Linked DNA regions of Homo sapiens: region 1 is linked to region 2. The links are contacts of gene promoters, found by promoter capture Hi-C in blood cells and fetal thymus (Javierre and others, 2016). All regions are on one chromosome and are shown on one strand. The core of a region is centred on a gene start or on the middle of the fragment in contact, and the rest is flanking DNA. Distances in the headings are between cores, read along the strand shown. Region 1 has its middle 13 kb from the start of LINC01315. Region 2 holds the start of NDUFA6 (NADH:ubiquinone oxidoreductase subunit A6).

What was found. Contacts are between HindIII fragments. The CHiCAGO score rates a contact against its expected background, and 5 or more counts as called.
Region 1: a contact is called between a fragment that was not itself captured here and the fragment with the promoter of NDUFA6 in region 2, in 1 of 17 cell types (activated CD4 T cells). The highest score is 5.3, in activated CD4 T cells.

Annotation. Positions count from the first base shown.
Region 1 is chr22:42,355,189-42,357,888 of GRCh38, forward strand. No RefSeq gene overlaps it. Among named protein-coding and RNA genes, the nearest start is that of LINC01315, 13 kb to the right of the region's middle. RefSeq lists an enhancer at 1,537-1,616. The HindIII fragment of the contact is 868 bases long and covers 956-1,823 here.
Region 2 is chr22:42,089,118-42,092,032 of GRCh38, forward strand. It overlaps NDUFA6 (NADH:ubiquinone oxidoreductase subunit A6), which reads right to left and starts at 1,655. Exons shown (of 3, transcript NM_002490.6): 1 at 1,489-1,655. The coding sequence starts at 1,627. NDUFA6-DT (NDUFA6 divergent transcript) reads left to right here and starts at 1,816. Exons shown (of 5, transcript NR_034118.2): 1 at 1,816-2,064; 2 at 2,180-2,483. The HindIII fragment of the contact is 8,372 bases long and covers 1-2,817 here.

The DNA of each region.
Region 1 (2,700 bases), core at 140-2,639, 270 kb after region 2:
TGCCCCTACTGAAGGCTGCCAGACAGGCACAGCCATGGGAAGCACCGAAAGTTGAGTTGAGTTCAACAGAAGATGATCCAGGGCTGGCCCATCTCCACTGGGTTCAGAACCATTACACAGCACCTTCTCCAGCAGGCCCGGGTGCACCCCAGTGCCTGGACTCCTCTGGCCGCCACTCCTAGCGTCAGAGGAGTCCAGGCACCGGACCACCACTTTGCCTTTCTTCCCCCCTTTACTTCTCCATACTCATTTCCTACTTGAGCCTCAGGTCCAGCCTGGCCAGGTAGACAGAGTGGGCACAACAGGGTCATGGGGGCCATTGCACAAATGAGGAAAGGAGCTGAGAAGTCACATGGGTTGCCCAAGTCGTCCCCTACTCTCCCCACCCCATGCCCCTGCCTGATGAAGTTGGATCGGGCGTGCTGGCTGGCCAGGACACTGTGTGGGCATGGGGAGTCCTCAAGCCCCATCCCACCCCCTGGAGGCTGACAGCTGGGAGACTGAGGCCAAAGGCAGCCCCACTGCAGCACTGCACAGGGACTTCATGCGGGGCCCTGGATGTGGAGGACCTGGAGGCCTAGAGACCTGGAGGAACTTGTCAGCCGCAGAGGTTGTGAGTGTGTGTGTGTGTAGGTGTTGTAGGTGTGTGCATGTGTGCATGTGTGTGCGCACCTGCATGTACATGTATGTATTATAGGGCACAGGACTCATGAAGTGACAGATCACCATGGGGTCCCCAAATCCACACCCCTCACCCCAGCAACTCCAAGGGGTAGCCTGGAGATAGGAAGGGCACCCAGGAGGGAGAGAAGGGGGTTTCTGGACCATTCAACAAGGGGCATCACAGAACAGGATCTTAACCAGTGTATGGAACAGCAAAGTCAGCCTGATCCAGGTGCAAAACCCAACTGCTCAAGTACTCACTGCAGTTTAGGCAGGCGGCCTAGTCTTGCTAAGCTTCAATTATATTATCTGCAAAATGGACCTAATAATTCCCATGTTACAGGGTGGTCAGAATAAAACAAGATGCAGGTTGAGCGCAGGGCCTCACTCCTGTAATCCCAGCACTTTGGGAGGCCAAGGCGTGCAGATCATCTGAGGTCAGGAGTTCGAGACCAGCCTGGCCAACATGGTGAAACCCCGTTTCTACTAAAAATACAAAAATTAGCCAGGTATGGTGGCACGTGGCTGTAGTCCCAGCTACTCGGGAGGCTGAGGCAGGAGAATCGCTTGAACTTGGGAGGCAGAGGTTGCAGTGAGCCGAAATTGCGCCACTGCACTCCAGCCTGGGCGACAGAGCGAGACTCCGACTCAAAAAACAAAACAAAACAAAACAAGATGCAGTGCACACTCAATAAATGATCACTGTTTAGTTTGTTGCTAGAATGGGCTGTCCTTTCATTCTAGAATCACTCAGTGCTCCCTGAGCCCTGATCCAGCCTTACTATGAGCTGGGAACCAGACAGGAGGCCTTGCCCTCAAGGGACTCGCACATTATAGTTATAATAACGACATGCATGAATGTGTGTGTCCCAGCTGCCTGCCTTTCCGAGGCCGTGTGGTTTGCCGCTTTATAAGCACAAAGTCATTGAATCCCCGAGAGAATACTACGCATTGGGGGCTGCTACCATCATCTTGCTGATGAAGAAACAGAGAGGTGAAGGAACTTGTTCAGGGTCATCCAGTGGACAAGGTCCAGAGCCAGGATCTGAAACAAAGATCTCACTCCCACACTCATGCAGGACAGAAACCTGCACAACCCAGGTCATTAACTGCTCAAATCAAGGTAGCACTTGGGGCTGTGGGAGCACTGAGGAAGGAGAAGCTTAAGGGGAGTTCAGGAAGGGACTCACAGGGGACGTTAGTGAGCAGGGACTTAGAGGCATGAAGGCTTGGACAGGAGAAGAGGAAGGGTGGGCCAGGCAGGGATGACAGCCTGGACAGAGGCCCAGAGCAGGGGACAGGAAGCTCAACCCACGTCCGCCCCCCTGCCTGGATCCTAGCTCCGCTCATCGCCGCTGTGGTTCTCGAAGGCCCTCTTATCCTCTGGCCTTTGCCTATGCTGTTCCCTGTTTGCATGCTGTTCCCCTTTTTATCCTGTGCTCTAGGCTCAGTAGTGGGTGACAGAGCAGGATTTGAAAACAGGCCTATGGGACTCCCAGACATGTGCCTTTCCCCATGCAGTGCCCTGCCTCACAGAGAGAGAGAGCGACTCACACCTGGCGAGACCGAGGGTTGAGTCTGCCAGGAAGAGCATGGTGAGCAGGGGGAACAGAATGTGGCAACATGTGAGGGCAGACTCAGGACTGTGCCTGGGTCTGTCTTCCTGCCCAGCCTGGGGTCCACCTCTCACACTCCAGGGCTCCAAAGCCAGTGCTCCTTCCCCTGGCCTGCCTGGGGGATGGCAAGATTTAGATAGAGAATGACTTACTGACTTCAGAGTCCCACAGCCCTGGGTTAGAGCCCCTGGCCCTCATATCACTCTGGCCAAGTTGCTTCCACTCCCTGAACCTTGGCTTTCTCTCCTGTGAATGAGACTGTACCTGAAGAATGATTAAGGAAAGTCCCTGGCACAGAGTAGGTGCCTGGCAAATACCAACGGACAGGAGCCTCGGGACAGATCCCGTTCTGTCCTGGCATGGTGCCGTTTCCTAGCTAGGGAGCCAGCAGGCTCTGCAGGGCAGGGAGGCTCTGCGCTTA
Region 2 (2,915 bases), core at 405-2,904:
AAGAGCTGGATCCTCAGAGTCAGGATACCTGGGTTCTGTCTTCTACTTGGCCACTGATTTACCCTTCACAAGCCACCCTTTTTGAATGTGGTCCTCCTTCCCCCAGCACCTTCCTCCTGCAACCAGAGAGGGTTCTGGGTACTCCTAGAAGTATTCTGCCAGGCAAACATTATGTTTTCAAACTGCTGAATTTGAATGCACCACCCCGAAACACACACACACACACACACACACACACTGCTACAGTCACTCCCCACACACATCTTTTATCTGCCTGCCCCTGAAGGCATCTGAATTTGCAGTCCCTGAACCAGCAGATCACTCAAGTTTCTCCTTCTCTAGTATCGCGTGGGTTTAAGTTCTGGTCAGTAGCAATTTTTCCAAAAGTCAGCTTGAAGACAGGGACTCTGTGGAGCAGACACAGTTCTCATATGTCAAAGAACCGGGTTCTGCTTGGAAGCTGCTGCTAAGGAAAGCCCTATAAATAACAAAAATAACAACAAAAACAACGGCAGCAGCTAATATTTAATGAGTTAAATATGCATCAAGTCCTGTTCTAAGCACTCTAGATATTTTAACTTAATACAGTAACCTTCTGAAGAAGGAATTATTATTCCCATTTTAAAGATGAAGAAACTGAGGAATAGATGAAATAACTGGCCCAAGGTCACACAGCTAGTTGAGGGCAGCGCCTGAAGAAAAGTCCGTGCTCCTAACCACCACATTCTACCGCCTTTTCACACACACAAGCAGGGACTCGACAGCCCTGAGGAGTGGCACCGTGCTCCAGCTCACTCAAAAACACCTCTTTCTCGCACTTTGGGAGGCCGAGACGGGCGGATCACGAGGTCAGGAGATCGAGACCATTCTGGCTAACACGGTGAAATCCCGTCTCTACTAAAAATACAAAAAAAAATGGCCGGCGTGGTGGCGGGCGCCTGTAATCCCAGCTATTCGGGAGGCTGAGGCTGAGGCAGGAGAATGACGTGAATCCGGGAGGCGGAGCTTGCAGTGAGCCGAGATCGCACCACTGCACTCCAGCCTGAGCGACACAGCGAGACTCTGTCACAAACAAAAAAATCCAACGGGCATCTATAATTACACTCTGCAACTCTAGACTTTGGGTTCTGGGTACAACAGTGGCTCGGCCTGGGCCCTGGGCACATCACTTCACCTCTCGGTGCCTCCGCTGCCTCACCCACAAAGTGAGTGTGTCACTGACAGTCATCGTCCTCCCGCCAATTGCGAAGGACAAAAGAGACCAAAGCTCCGATAGCACGTACGAATGCTAGGCACGGCCGGTCTGACCACCGCGCCGCCGCCAGGTCCGGCCCATGGTAGGCTCGGGTGACCCTCTTCCCCTGAAGCACCCGCAGTCGCCTCTGCCCAAGTTGGTGACCTCAGCTGGGCCCATGAGAAACCCCGGCCGGGCCGGCTACGACCTTGAGCGGCGGCCTCCGGGTCCCCACGTAAGCCGCTACCTCTCACCAGTGTTCGGCACCTCCCGATACCAGGCGCGGTAGAGCTCGCGCACCCTCCGCTTGGCCTCGTTCATGTCCCGACTGAAAATGGGCTTCACGAAGGTGCTGGCGGTAGAAGTAGCTTGGCGGACGCCGCTCCCCGCCATCTTGCCAAAGCATCCACTCCACAACCCCACCCCTTTGCAAGCAGCGCGTGCGGACCGCGGGCGAATGTCTTTTCCCATTGGCTAAGGAGGAACGCCCCGCCTGTATGCTGGGTGGGCGGGAGGATGACTCTGAGGCTCTCGGATTGGCTGGGAAGCCTCTCTCTGGCTGAGCGAACGGTGGGTGCTGCGCATGCTCATCTACAGAAACGCCGCTTGGCCTTTGGACTACACCATCTGTCGCTCGCTCTAACGAGCCGGCGTTGCCGCCAGGGGACGCTCGGGCCGCAGGAGGTCGCTGGGTCGTGAGCTGGCGCCGGGGACGCCGAGCGACTGCGGGGTTTCCCTCAGCGTCCTGCTATCCGGCTGCCCGCCGCGCTCCTTGGTAGTGTCCGTGGGCGCGCAGGCCTTGAAGAACCTCCTCGTGGCGGGACCCCGAGGTAACTGCTGAGGCAGATAATGGCGCCTGGGCTGCGGTGGGGCTTGTCCTGCCGCCTGGCGGCTTTCTGCAGGGCCAGGATATACTTACTTTTCTGTAAACCAACTCTTCCTTAGCGCAGGAGAGGTGTCAAAGAGCTGGCGCGTCTCCAGAGCCCCGGGAGGAAGGCTGTAACGGCAGCCCCATCGTAGACAGGGACATTCGCATCCCGAGCCCTGGATCTCTGAAAACCAGCCCAGAATTTGGAAGCTGGAAGGAACTTTAGATCGTCCATTCTGAGTGTCTCTCTTCGCTGGCGTTTTCCCACTGAGGTTATGTAAACATGAAGAGGAGCCTACAAGTGTCAAGGAAAAAACGACAGCTAACCACAGGGCAGGCCATGGGCAAGATATCTCAGTGTTCTCCGCTCTCATAGGTCAGGTAGGTACCTCAGCATCCCCATTTTACAGGTGAGGAAACTGAGATGGCCCAGAGTCTAGGTCACCTGACAGATCGCCCCCACCTGCCTGACTGCTGCCTAAGAGGCTCCGTCTTTTTCTGAAGGTGTAGTTGACAGGAGCCTGTGAGTATTGGGGAAGGGCCAGGGGCCGGGGCTGAGCATCTACTCCAAACTTTCCCATTTCGAAGGGTTAAAAAACCAGATATACTTTTTTTCTTCCTTATTATCTTCTAAAATGTATATATATATTCAAGTGAGCTATACAAAAGAAAGCACGTAACATATATAAATTATAAAGCATAATAATAAAATGGAAGCTTTTGAACCTCAGTACTGACTTAAGAAGTTGTAACACAGTTAAGGTTTGTATAAAGTGTCCTTAGATGTCCTTAGTAGCCACTGTTCTCTAGTTC